Regions from separate parts of the Homo sapiens genome. Here region 2 is linked to region 1. The links are contacts of gene promoters, found by promoter capture Hi-C in blood cells and fetal thymus (Javierre and others, 2016). All regions are on one chromosome and are shown on one strand. Each heading gives the region's core, a stretch centred on a gene start or on the middle of the fragment in contact. The rest is flanking DNA. Distances are from core to core; before and after follow the strand shown.

Region 1 (6,642 bases), core at 1,841-4,340:
ATGTAGCTTGAGGGACAGACAGTGGACATGGTGAAGGTAAAAATAACTATCTTTTGTGGAACACCTATTATTTCCCAGGCACTCTTTCTTAAAAGTCTGTTTTAGGACGTAGGTTCTATTATCATCATCTTTATGTTACATGTGAGGAAATAGAGGAGAATGGAGTTTGTATAACTTGTTATATCCCAAGGTAGCACAACGACCACCTAGTACAGTCCAAATTTGAACTCAGGCCTTCCAAATTTAGTGTATATGCCCTTAGCCACTATGTCCTAACACCTACTGTTCAAATGCACATTTAGTTTAATAATCCTAACAGCACTTGATCAGTGCTGTACAATGTACTTTCACAATGATCTCATTCCATTCTCTCAAAAGTCCTGTCGGGCGGTACCAGATGAGAAGAGCCGGTTCCTATAGTTAAATGATCACACAGCAAGGCCAGTGCAGACAAGCAGCTGGAATACAGGTATTTTGCCAGAGCTAGGGTAGGGGTGTGTTTCTCTACACCACATTGGGACTTCTGACAGTTTTCTTAGACTTCTGTTCCATCTCTTATAATAACAATCCACTTTCTATCATATTTGTTTGGATGTTTGAATCCTTACATCAACACGAGGGTAGCAAATATGACTTAACTTTTTTAGGTAGTCCCTGTGCTCAGGCACTGTTTATTGAATAAATGTGTAAACAAATTAAAAAAGAGTCTGGCCATATAGTCATTTGAATATTTTATTTCTAGACTTCCTTAAGTGTTGAACCATCAATATTTTAGTGAAAGGAGACTACATAGACTAGTTTGATGATACCTTTGTTCTTTTTCTACATGTGTTTCAAAAAAGTAAACTTAATTTCACATACACTTTAAATAGAATTTTTTTTGCATATACAAGGAAATGTGATTACAAATACCTTTTGAAGAGGATTAGTGATAATCTGTACCTTTTGTAAGCAAAATGAATGAGAGTACTATTAGAAACCTGTGGATTGAAGCTTTCATTCATCAAAGAAAATCTGCAGCTCTGTGCGCTTCCGCTCAACCCAATTCCTTAGGTCCTCTGAATAAAGCAGTGACCTGGGAGTTCTTGCACCCGCTCCTCACTCCTGAGAAGGGTCCTGCCAACTCTGTATTGTCCTGTTGGATTTGCAGTCAGAAGTCTGAGGCTGGCAGGCACTGGGCAGGCAATGAGTTCTTTCCCTGTAAGTTGGGCACAAAAAGATCGGCATGGGAGCAGCCTCCTTTGAGACAGCTGCTCTGAGAGAATGCAATAAGCAGGGAGCAGCCAGCAATTCCTCCTAGCAGAGGGCGACTCGTGGGAGGAGTTCAGTTTGCCAAGTATTGTCATTTGTTGAGAGAAGGTGTGTGCTCAAGGAGGAGTTTTAACCTGGAGGATCATTAACTCTTTTAGTCAGCTGAGGAGCTGCGGTGGCTCGGCGAGTTGGAGTTCATCCTGGAAGCGTCTGCACGACAAGGTCAGGGAGGAGGTGTGGAATAACTTTTTCATGGGACACTTTGAGAAGGGCCAGCACGCTCTGCTCAATGAAGGAGAAGAGAATGAGATGGTAAGATTCTAGCCACATTCCCTTCTTCCCATCCCACTTCTCAGCCTGCGAGACACACACACACACACACACACACACACACACACGCACGCATCACACACACACAGACTTTTCTAAAATTTCACTCTGGTATTACACGAGAAAAGGTCATGTTTGAGAAATCTCTCTATCCTGTAAATATAACCTCTGACAGCAGAAATTTGCTAGAATGAAAATATTGTATTCATCTTGTCAAGAATGTTTTCTTTTTAAAGAAAACAGAGAGGGAGAGAAGCACCATGCACTTTATGATTCTTGTTTGAGCCTCATTGGTATAGCCAGTTCTGTTCAAAACACCTAACAATTTTAGGAAATCCCTAATGTGAGGAGCAGTGTATTCCCTGATAGGAAGAAGCAGAAGTTCAGCAGTGAAGCAGAAGTGCAGCTGGGTCTTTGACCTTCTCTTCTCAAATGTCTTGTTCACCGAGTCTGTTGGACAGGGAAGACATGCAATATTAACAATTATCAGCCTACACACATTTCTGTTTTCTTCTAGAATTTTACTTTTGTGGCTTCCTCATTATAGAGATTGGTTACAGAAAACTTTCGGTAGTTCAGTATCTCTTTGATTTTAGATGTGCTTCTATCTTGAGAACTATAGGAAAATCAAAGATGACTTTCATGCTCAGGATGAATTTAAAACTGTATTTCTCAATTACAATATAATCAAGAGAGAGTTAGAAATATGTACTTCTGTTTAATAAGATCTTTCTGCTAATTGTGTAAGCATAGTCTTTTATGCCAGTAATGATGTAATTAAAATGTTAAAATGTGACGCTCTCATTCCATAATAGCATTTAATCTTCCTGGAATTAATATGTAAATAACAAACCTGAAAGATATTTACTTAAAATGTTTTCTTGGTTAATTGCTTTAGCCCTGACTATTACATTCTTTGTTCCTAAACTGGTCTTTCAAGTCTAATCTGCTTACCTGTTCCTATAGCAACAACATTTTTTGGACTTTCAAGAGTAGATCCCTTCTGCTATCAAAGCTGAAAAAATTATAAAGAAGTAAAATGTACATTAATTCAGGTGCCTTTCTTAACCATATCCTTTACTTCATTCAGATTTGACTGCCAAATGAATTGCCTTCAGCCCCTCCACAAATGTCACCAGAAATGGCTTGCTAGCCCACATTGGATATCATCTTTGTTTCTTTAAAGAGTTTTCTTTAGGAAGTGAATATCTCATTACTCTCGATATTAAGTTGAAAAGTTTATCTTCATCTTGAATACTCTTCACCAGAAGGCAGGGGCTCCTTCCTCTGAAACATTTTTTTTCTCTCTCATTTAGAAATACACTCACTCTTTTCCAGTAAACCCCTTTCTGCTCTCAGACAATTTGTCTTTCAAGTCTCAATAAGAATCATTTATTTTCCAGAAGACATTCATGGTTGTAGGGAAACTGTTACCTCTTCCCTAGCATACATATTCCACCAAAGCAATTTAGTTAACAGTTCATCTTCATAATGGCACCATCAGATGCATGGAGAACTCCACGTAGTTTTGTATGCAGCTGAAAGCCCAGTTAGGAGAGGCCCTTTAATATGGAAAGGGACACTGTGTTTTCTGGTAGGCAGCCATTTGGCCAGTAGTCTCAGCAGAGGTGCAGCAATTAGTATGCACTCCTGAGCTCTCCATCCTCTTCTGCCTACAGAAACCTGGCCACCTGCCTGTTGCTGTGTCTGACACTGTGTTCCTTTTTAACTCACTCCTCCATCCCTTGCCCAGAGCAGTAAACTTTAAAAATTATCAAGCTATATATATAGTCTACATATTTTGTAGTGATTTTTAGTATACACAGCATTTTCTTGGCCACTAGCTAATTTAGTTTTCCTCACAACCCTATGAGGTAGATGCTGTGATTCTAACTTTAAAGATGAGGAAATTGATGCACACAGGCTTTCCCTAAGGTTGCATCAACCAGTAAGTCCAGGAGCTGAGGCACCGCACAGGTTAGTTTAAGTTGACAGCTCTTTTGTCTCTGGACCTGAACATAGCCCACTGATACCTTTTCCAGTTCTTCCGGAGAACATTCCACTCTTAACAGAACACATTCCCTTCCTTCATAAAACAAAGCTAAGGAGAACATCAACATCCAGTCTTCTTAGATTCCCCAGCATCTGTTCTGTTATAGATAATTTGAGTTTCTTTTTTCTTCTAGATAATTCGAGTAGCTTAAATAAGTCTGTCTTCTCTGACTTCCAAGTCCAGAAATGTGTCACACCAAAGTGTTTAGTTTCATGCTTTATAATATACTTTACTTGAACCTTTGCAAACGTAATTTCTCTTGTGGTAGAAATTACTTCAAATTTCAAGAGAAAACAACATGCTAGGGTTTAGACCTCATGTCAAATAAAGAAGAATATTCTGAGGCCTAAAGATGCCTGGGATTATCTTCCATTTTGGAGTTAAAAAACCAAAAACAGGCTGGGCATGGTGGCTCGTGCCTGTAATCCCAGCACTTTGGGAGGCCGAGGCGGGCGGATCACCAAGTCAAGAGATTGAGACCATCCTGGCCAACATGGTGAAACCCCATCTCTACTAAAAACACAAAAATTAGCTAGGCAGGGTGGCGTGCACCTGTAGTCCCAGCTACTTGGGAGGCTGAGGCAGGAGTATGGCGTGAACCTGGGAGGCAGAGGTTGCAGTGAGCCAAGATCGCGCCATGGCACTCCAGCCTGGCAACAGAGCAAGACTCTGTCTCAAAAATAAGTAAATAGATAAAAATAAATAAATAAACAAGTAACAAACCAAAAGCAAACAGGAACTAAAGAGCAACCCTAGGTGACCTGAAAATAATATCTTTAACTGCGAAATGAGACAGGACCCAAAGGTAGAAAGAAGCTTTTGGAGGGAGAAGGAAGGAAAGGTGAGAAAGTGGCCTTCAGCGAAGGTTCACCTAAATGACTGCCTCAGAAAGGCTTCGAGGAGGAAACTCTGGGAGAGCACTGGGACGGGACGGGAGGCCTGGCTCTCACCGGCCTTGGGCCAGCCGCTTGCCTGCTCTAGCCTCAGTTTTTATACCTGTAAAATAGGACTGGTCCTTCTTACCCCCACCAGACTCACAGAGTTCTCATGAAGATCAGTGGAGATAATCCATATAAACATGTTTTGAGAAGTAAACAGTTCTGGCGAGGTGTGAGCTGCTATCATCTAAATAAAGGTAGGAAAAGCCAAGGGCTTAGCAATTAACCAATTGAGTAAATACTATCCCACAAAAATGAGGTCATCTCTTGCCATTCAGTTATACCAAAAGGAATATGTACTTTTTTTTTTTCTTTTTGTTACACGGAGTCTTGCTCTGTTGCCAGGCTGGAGTGCAGTGGCGTGATCTCGGCTCACTGCAACCTCTGCCTCCTGGGTTCAAGTGTTTCTCCTGCTTCAGCCTCCCGAGTACCTGGGACTACAGCTGCATGCCACCATGCCTGGCTAATTTTTTGTATTTTTAGAAGAGATGGTGTTTCACCGTGTTGGCCAGGATGGTCTTAATCTCTTGACCTTGTGATCCACCTGCCTCAGCCTCCCAAAGTGCTGGGATTATGGGCATGAGCCACCGCACCTGGCCAGGAATATGTACTTTTATTCATAGGCCGTAGAGACCACTTATAAATGGAGAGGAGCTGGGTTATCTTCTACTTACCTTGTGCATACGTTGGGAAAACACCTACCTTTTTTAGCTTCCTTATTTGTAAAGTGAGAGTATGAGAATGTCTGGGAGCACAAATCTCTTTGAGTCCTGACGTTTTGTATTTCTATTTTGAAGGAATTTAGAACCATTTCCTTATACCATGGCTGAACGAAGGTATCATGGCTTAATTGATTCTAACATTGCTCTTTAGTTACACCTTAACACAATCAATCTTTTGGGGAAGTGTTTTGTTCCAGTGAGACTTTTAAAAAGTAACGTTCCCTGATATTTTTCTCTAGGCCTTAACAAATAAGACAAAAAATAAAAAAACCTTTGAATTCTTTTCTGATTATAAAGGTAACATATGTTTATTGTAAAAATATTGAAATGGCAAATAAGGATCTAAAGAATGAAGTAAATATGCTTCATGAGTTTACCACCAGACATGTCAATAAAAAATGCAGGCTGCGCGCCATGGCTCAAGCCTGTAATCCCGGCACTTTGGGAGGCTGAGGCGTGCAGATTGCTTGAGCCCAGGAGTTCCAGACCAGCCTGGGCAACATAGTGAAACCCTGTCTATAAAAATACAAAAAAATTATCTGGATGTGGTGGTATCCACCTGTAGTCCCAGCTACTTGAGAGGCTCAGGTGGGAAGCTCGCTTTGGTCCAGGAGGTTGAGGCTGCAGTGAGCTGAGATCATATCAGTGCACTCCAGCCTGGGGGATAGAGTGAGACTCCGTCTCAAAAAAAAAAAAAAAAAAACCTAAAATTCACCACTTTCTAACTATTTTGCTCTATCTTCATACTTATCTGTGCTTTTGAGATTATTTGCACCTAATTTATCTGTATCATGGAAATACTAGGTAGTGGTATTACACAGCATGGTGCAATTGTATTTCTTCCGAACTCCTAATTCAGTGACATCACATTGGTAGCTTGAAATAAATAATGTTGGTGCTATTTATGCCACAGAAATCTGTGGATACTACAACGGGACTTCCACCCTGCCCCGCCTGAAGGCCATTTGTTAAATACTTACCAGCACATCACTGAACATATTGTTGCCTCATAATTTCCCTTTTCCCCGCTACATGTTGAAAAACAACATGAATATTGTTTTTGGATATCATCCGTTTGTTTGCATCATGGCAAAACAAGATTATTCCATTGATTTAAAAATTCTATTCTTAAAAAATATACATATACTTAGAAATATGTATCTTTTTCATGTTAGTTTTTTTTGGAGAAAGGGTCTCTGTCTGGGTTGGAGTGCAATGGTGTGATCATAGCTCACCGCACCCTCAACCTCCCAGGCACAGGTGATCCTCCCACATCAGCCTCCTGAGTAGCTGGGACCACGGGCGCATGCCACCATGCCTGGCTAATTTTCCAGTATTTTATGTAGAG
Region 2 (6,642 bases), core at 2,228-4,727, 1.1 Mb after region 1:
TCAGATGTTGTTTCAAAGCCGAAGTATGTATTGCCCTACAGAGAGAAAGATGGTCATATGAAGTTCTTGAGGTTCTTTTTGTTTTAAACAAGTCTTAGGAATCAGGTTAGTCTATAAATTCCGTTTCCTGACAGTTGACTCCCTGCAAGCAGCAAGACGAGGTTCTCATCCAATTAAGGCTCACACAACATAACTTTTGTCTTTGATGGTCGTTTGTTAATATTTAGTTTGGTGATAAGGTGGTAGAATTAATTTGGCAAGAGTTGACATTTTCTGTATTGAATGGAAGGAAAGAGAAAGAAAAGAATCACAACTATGTCATTTCCAATGTGGTATTGATAAAGGTGGAGCTAATGGACTGAGAGATTTTCATTTTATGCTGAGTCTGATGAATGTCTTTTCCGTCCAAGAAGTTTTGCTCAGGAAGAGGAAGAAGAGGAAAGAAATGTGACTGTGATTGGAAGATACAATTTAGACCTGGGTTAAGCAATATTTAGGTAACTCTATTTTCGTATGTGGTTATTAGTGATGAACGTTATATTTCCATATTAGGAAATATTCCCCAGATATTTCATAATTTCATAATTATTGTATCTATTGGTATGTTTCAAGATTATGTATTGAACCAATAGTTACTTTTATCAAGAGGTAATTAATGAAGAATTTTATTATTCTGAGGGATATTATAGATTCATAATATAAATAGCTTAGGAAAACAGCATATGAGCCAGAAGCCATAGCTTATAGTTAAGTAACTGGTGTTGTTTGGAGAAGAAAGTGATATAGACGATGCTTCTGTTATTTTAGAGATCTTGTCAGCAAGCATGAGCATGGTTTTCCATTTAGCCATCTCATATGTCCAGAGCACAATATTGTGCTGCATGTCTCATAGCCTGGCATTCATTCCTACTCAACAAAATATGTACTGAGAAGCTTCCCAGGTCCCACTACTCTAGGTACTGGAGTTACAGTAATGAACAAGTTAAAATTCCCGACCTAATACCCTTACATTCTTTTAGAAACATTTAGTTTTCATGATTTGACTAAATTGCATACTTTCCAGGCAGATGAGAGTAAAGGGATAAAACTAGAAACAGGCTTCAGTTAATCTCAACCCAAGAGGTTACACATAAAATACAATTAGGATTGTACATTCTTTACGTTTACATTATAAACATATTATAAACAAAGCACGTTAGGCAGCATCGATTTTGCCAACTAAAACACTTAATTTTGTATACAATACCCTGCCCCTCAAAGGGTCCAGCAATGACATGAACAGTAGATGTAAATAGTGCAGAGGCCCTGTGTGAATGTCTTCAGAAACAAGCATGATCGAACAGGCGAGCTTGAGACCTGGGATAATGGCTCACAGAACTGAAGCTAAGCACTAGGCTTGGATGAGCAATGAGATAGGACAAGTTGATGTTTCATGCCTAGGTGTGGTCTTGGAGAAACAACGGACAAAGTCATCTGGGACTAATAAGTGAATTAAGATCAGGTTTAGAAAAAAAAGATCAAGTTGGCATAGTCTTTACCAAGGTTTCGAAGCGGCACTAGGAACAGCTCCCAAGGGCTGTGATTGTTATTAGTTACTATGGTTGCTATGAGGAAGTAGAAAATAATAAATGCATCTAGCTGTAGCCAACAAGTAAGAAAAGTGAATGAGGTAGGCTAGTTCTTAGGCAGTAGGGGATTTGGAAGAAATGTGACAAATATGAAATCACAGCACTTTCCAAATGGGGAAATTAACCAGCTACTACTCAGCTCCAGCCAGTTGGTTCTAGGCAGGACTGCAGGCTCAATGTTACTGGATCTTCCAGAAAATAATAATAATAATAATAGTAAAACAAATCCAAAGATGCAGGAGGAAATCCAGATATTTTAAGTGAAATCTCATGATTTTAATAATTTTGGCAACTCAAATTAAAACATATAAAACACACTTGTAAACACAGTCTTGGCTCTAGTTCCTTTTAAGACAGTTTTGGCTCTGAATAAAAGAGGTCGTATCCTTGTCCATCTATGAGTGTTCAGTGTTTATTCATGACACATCTAGCCATCTTACCCACTGTAGCCTGATGTTCTCAAAATATAAATTATATCATGTTTGTCTACTGCTTGTACTCCTCAATGTCTTCCCATTCCACTCAGAATGAAAGAAGAACACTTTAACATGGCCTTCAAGGCCCTGAACAGGGTGTCTTGCTTACCTCTGTGACCTTGTCTCATGCTCTTCTTCCTCCTGCTCACAATTTTCGAGCCACAGTATTCTTCTTTTACTTCCTAGGCTATGCCAAACTTTTCCGACACTAGAGGCTTTTAATTTTTTGTTCCCTCTTCTGCAACATTTCCCCTTGCCATCCGTGTTCACTCTTTGTTTTTACATGGCTCATTCTTTCATCAAGGCCTCATCTGAAGCAATATGCTCTCCAAGAGGCTCCCACGGATGATTATTTAATACCAACTGGTCCTCCCAGTTACTCTGTTTGCCACAGGACCATTCATACACTGAATGCAATTTGAATTAAAAAAAAAACTATTTGCTTTCATGTTAATTATCTGTCTCACTCATTTGAGTGTAAACTACTTGAGGATAAGAAACGTCTGTCTTGCTCATTGATATATAACTCCAGTGTCTAACACACAGGAGGCATTCAATAAATATGAATGGATGGATCACTGCATAAAAGGACTTGAAAGGCTTATGTCCTGGATGTGTTGGTTTGGTGCTGTATTCTTTGGACCTAGATCTTCTGGAGCAGTGTTCCTCGAACTTAGGTAAAGGACTCACTTTTTATAATGAAAAACCGTATTAATGGCCATCCACTGTCAACTTAGGTTATTTTTACTACGTATTATATATGCACGTATATGGCATAAAATTCTCTTGTTTATAGTGCGTACAAAATGATGAAACTAGATAATTTACAAATTAAATTATAAACAAGTCTATACAGAGACAATTCAATCTAAATTAGCAATATTAATTTAATGTTTAATGACATAAAATTATCTCAGTTCAGATGCAGTTATATATTTAATGTTTCTATGCTTTTATTTCAATAATACTTATACAGAGAATCTGTTCACATAAGTATGTTGAATAAAATTATATTACTAATTTCTTGGTTTTTTTACTTAAGGGTAATTAGACTTCATACTTAACTAAATGTTTGCCTGCTAGAAATCCTAAAATGCTAAATGTAATGATATCACTAAAAAAAATTTTGGAAGACAGTTAATAAGACAGCATTACTGAAAACTACATTAAAATGTTTTATCAACTAATTGCTGGAATTGGGAACAGATAAATTTCTTGTTGAATATTTGCTATTTAGTCTTACTATGAATGAATTATTCTAACAATGGTATTCCTAGAGCTGGGATTTCTGAAAGACGTATGCCTGCTAAGTAAAATGTCTTCTTACTGTCGAAGCATTAATATTTAACTTTTCAAAAGTCTGGTGATTACTCCATTTTCTCAATTTGAACTACCTCAAACAATTATTTCTTCAATTCACAGTGATTTAATCTTAACTTTATTGGAGTGAAACATATAATACAAACCAGAAACATTCGTTTCAAAATTTTGTGGCAATAATTAGTCTCCATAAAGTCAATAAAGTCATTGCTCAGATGCCTTAGAATATGTCTACTTCTAAATAATAGATAAACATACTTATGCACACATGCACACCTGTTTATAGATATAATACATACAGATAGATGGATGTTTATGTGTATACATATAAAATTTAAAATTTTAAAATTTATGTGTACACATATAAAATTTAAAATTTTAAAATTTATGTGTACACATATAAAATTTAAAATTTTAAAATTTATGTGTACACATATAAAATTTAAAATCCAGGCATTGATTATGGAGGGTGGGGCTGTAGACCAATCTTGAAACATGTAGACTTAAATTAAAAATACAAATAAAGAGATGAAACTCCTAGAAAATGCATTGTTGTCTTTGAACTGAGCTCTGGTCTAGAAAATAGCCAACAAGTTGCACAGTTCCGGGAGCACCATTCACATGGCTTTCTGGAATTGTGTTTCAAGAAATTACATTTCATATAAATACAATGGAAATAGTGCCCTTTGGGCCTGTGCAATGTGGGCCTGTCGATTCAGCCTGGGAGAGTGCATAAGGTCCGCCCACCTTTATGGCAACTGTCCTCTCTTTTCACCCAGAGAAACCTGCTCTTCTCCTATACTACCTCTCACAGCCGATCATTCACTTTGGCAACAGTTTAAATGATAATTCCCTCTTACAGAAATATTCACATCCTAAAAGTTAACTGCTGTATATTATGAATATGTCAATAATAGAATAATAAGGTAGAACAACAGGCTGTATTTTGCTTTTTGTGGGGATATGCGAGCTGTAATCAGCATATTTTATCATGCACTGACTGAAGGGTCTGTGTGGAATTTCAGAGTCTATGTTTATATCAGGTTCTAGAGCAAGCTCTAGATTAATACAAATTGATGTTCTTTTTTTTTTTTTTTTTTTTTTTAGGAAAATGGAAGGATCTCTATTGGATTAAAAGAGCATCCAGTTGTTGAGTGTTCTTTTGCATAGAGATCAGAATCTTTGCACCTAAGTGGTGATAATAGAGAGTACTCTCTCAGAAAAACACTGGCTTTAACAGTATCACCTGTCCCCAAAGTGCCCTTCTCTTTGATTCAAGACCAAAATAGAGTTTGCTATTTCATCTACTTAACTGGGCCTCTGTGGCTAGTCTTCATTGCTATCAGGGATAAAATCAGTTCCCCAATCTTTCAGGCTCAAATTCTTGGATTTACCTTTAATATCCTACAATTTTTTTTATATTGATCAGTCACATATAATTAACATTTGTTCTTTATAATGTATATTATGCCACAAGTGACTTCTCAAGAGCATAATGTCTCCTTCATATGTACAGCAATACGCCTGTTAAACCTTACAGCAATTTTTATTTTCTATTGATGTGTGGCACAGCCCATGTGATTGTTAGATGGGTTACTTCTCTACCTTTACCACAAATAAAATACATTTTTTTTCTTCTAGGGTACTGCTTATATATTTTTTCTAGCTGGAACGCCTTTCCACTTCCTTTTAATGCATCCAAATAGTAACCTTCCTTCAAACTCCACCTCAGCTACACTTCTACTTGGCAATTCATGCTGGAATGATCATTCTCTGCTTTGAATTCTTCTCTCATTTACACAAATAGCTTGTAACACGAATTCCCCTATACCATATTTTCTCCTTCTATTATTTTCGTTTATTTATTGAACTGATATTTACTATAATATTTGTGAATTATCTCATTTTAGCATCTTGAGGAAATAAAACCGTATCAGGCATAATTCTGTTCATAAAGCCTTTACACTTCAGTAAGAGACATTAGACATTTTTTTTACGTGTGGCTGTTGTATAATACGTTTTCATTTTGTTTGGTTTCGCTTTTAAGAGCAAGCAAGTTACAAATCAAGGGCTGTGGAAGTTTAGAGAATGAAGGATGACAGCTAGTGGTGGTATATGAATCCCCAGGAAAGAGGGGGCATTTGAACTGGGCTTTAGGTATAGTAGTCCATTAAAAAAATTGTAAATAGTAATAATGTATTAAAAGACATAGGTAGATGTTAGGTAGGCAGAGAAGGAGTATTCTTCAAGGAGGAATAACAAGAGCCAAGATATGTAAGTGGCTAACATAAGGGGTGCTGAGAATGAGGTGTCTAGGAATGCTGGACGGCAGGGTTACTGGCATGCAGAACTTGTAAAGATGAGTAGTAGGAGGTGAAGCTGGAAACATATATTGAAGCCAGGTTGTAAGTTGTAGAAGACTATAAATTCTATTCTAAAATATTTGGACTTTATTCTTCAGACAATGGAAAGTTGGCAGCCTCGAACAAGGAAATGAATCAGTGTTTTACCATGCACATTTTATCTTTCCAACTAGGTTAAATACTATTCATTTTGTGGAAATCATATGTGAATAATAAATATTTTATTAAGCTTTTTTATATTATCTAATATCATCCTTTTAATAGCTTTTGAAAATTTTATTATTATTTTGTTTTACTGCTGAAGGGAGTGCCTCAGAAAGTTTAAGTAAACAGCACAAGATCACACAGCTAAAAGGCAGAGAGGAATTTAACCATGTCTCAAGATTCATACTCCATGCTGTTCTTTTTTTGTTTTTTGTTTTTTGAGACGGAATCCCGTTTTGTTGCCCAGGCTGGCGTGCACTGATGCGATCTTGGCTCATTGCAACATCCACCTCCCAGTTTCAAGTCATTCTCATGCCTCAGCCTCCTGAGTAGCTGGGATTACAGGCATGTACCACCACGTCCAGCTAATTTTTGTATTTATATTACAGACAGGTTGTCTCCATGTTGGTCAGGCTGGTCTCGAACCCCTGACCTCAAGCGATCTTCCTGCCTTGGCCTCCCAAAGTGCTAGGATTACAGGCATGAGCCACCACGTCCGGCTCATACTGTTTTTCTTTACCACGGTACCTGTTCTCTTCTCTGTTGACTTTTTAGTTTTCCAGTAAAAGCTTAGGTTATCATTTAATAAAATAATCTTAAATAATATATGAATATGTTTATATTTTTTCTCATACACATTTTGCTTAGTTC

What was found. Contacts are between HindIII fragments. The CHiCAGO score rates a contact against its expected background, and 5 or more counts as called.
Region 2: a fragment that was not itself captured here is called in contact with the fragment with the promoter of ATP13A4-AS1 in region 1 in 1 of 17 cell types (total B cells); the score reaches 5.0 in total B cells.

Annotation. Positions count from the first base shown.
Region 1 is chr3:193,549,661-193,556,302 of GRCh38, reverse strand. It overlaps ATP13A4-AS1 (ATP13A4 antisense RNA 1), which reads right to left and starts at 3,090. Exons shown (of 2, transcript NR_121666.1): 1 at 3,016-3,090; 2 at 719-1,533. It overlaps ATP13A4 (ATPase 13A4), which reads left to right and starts at 1,408. Exons shown (of 30, transcript NM_032279.4): 1 at 1,408-1,563. The coding sequence starts at 1,504. The HindIII fragment of the contact is 3,457 bases long and covers 996-4,452 here.
Region 2 is chr3:192,482,203-192,488,844 of GRCh38, reverse strand. The region is part of intron 2 of FGF12 (fibroblast growth factor 12); the gene reads left to right. Among named protein-coding and RNA genes, the nearest start is that of FGF12-AS2, 29 kb to the left of the region's middle. The HindIII fragment of the contact is 5,083 bases long and covers 936-6,018 here.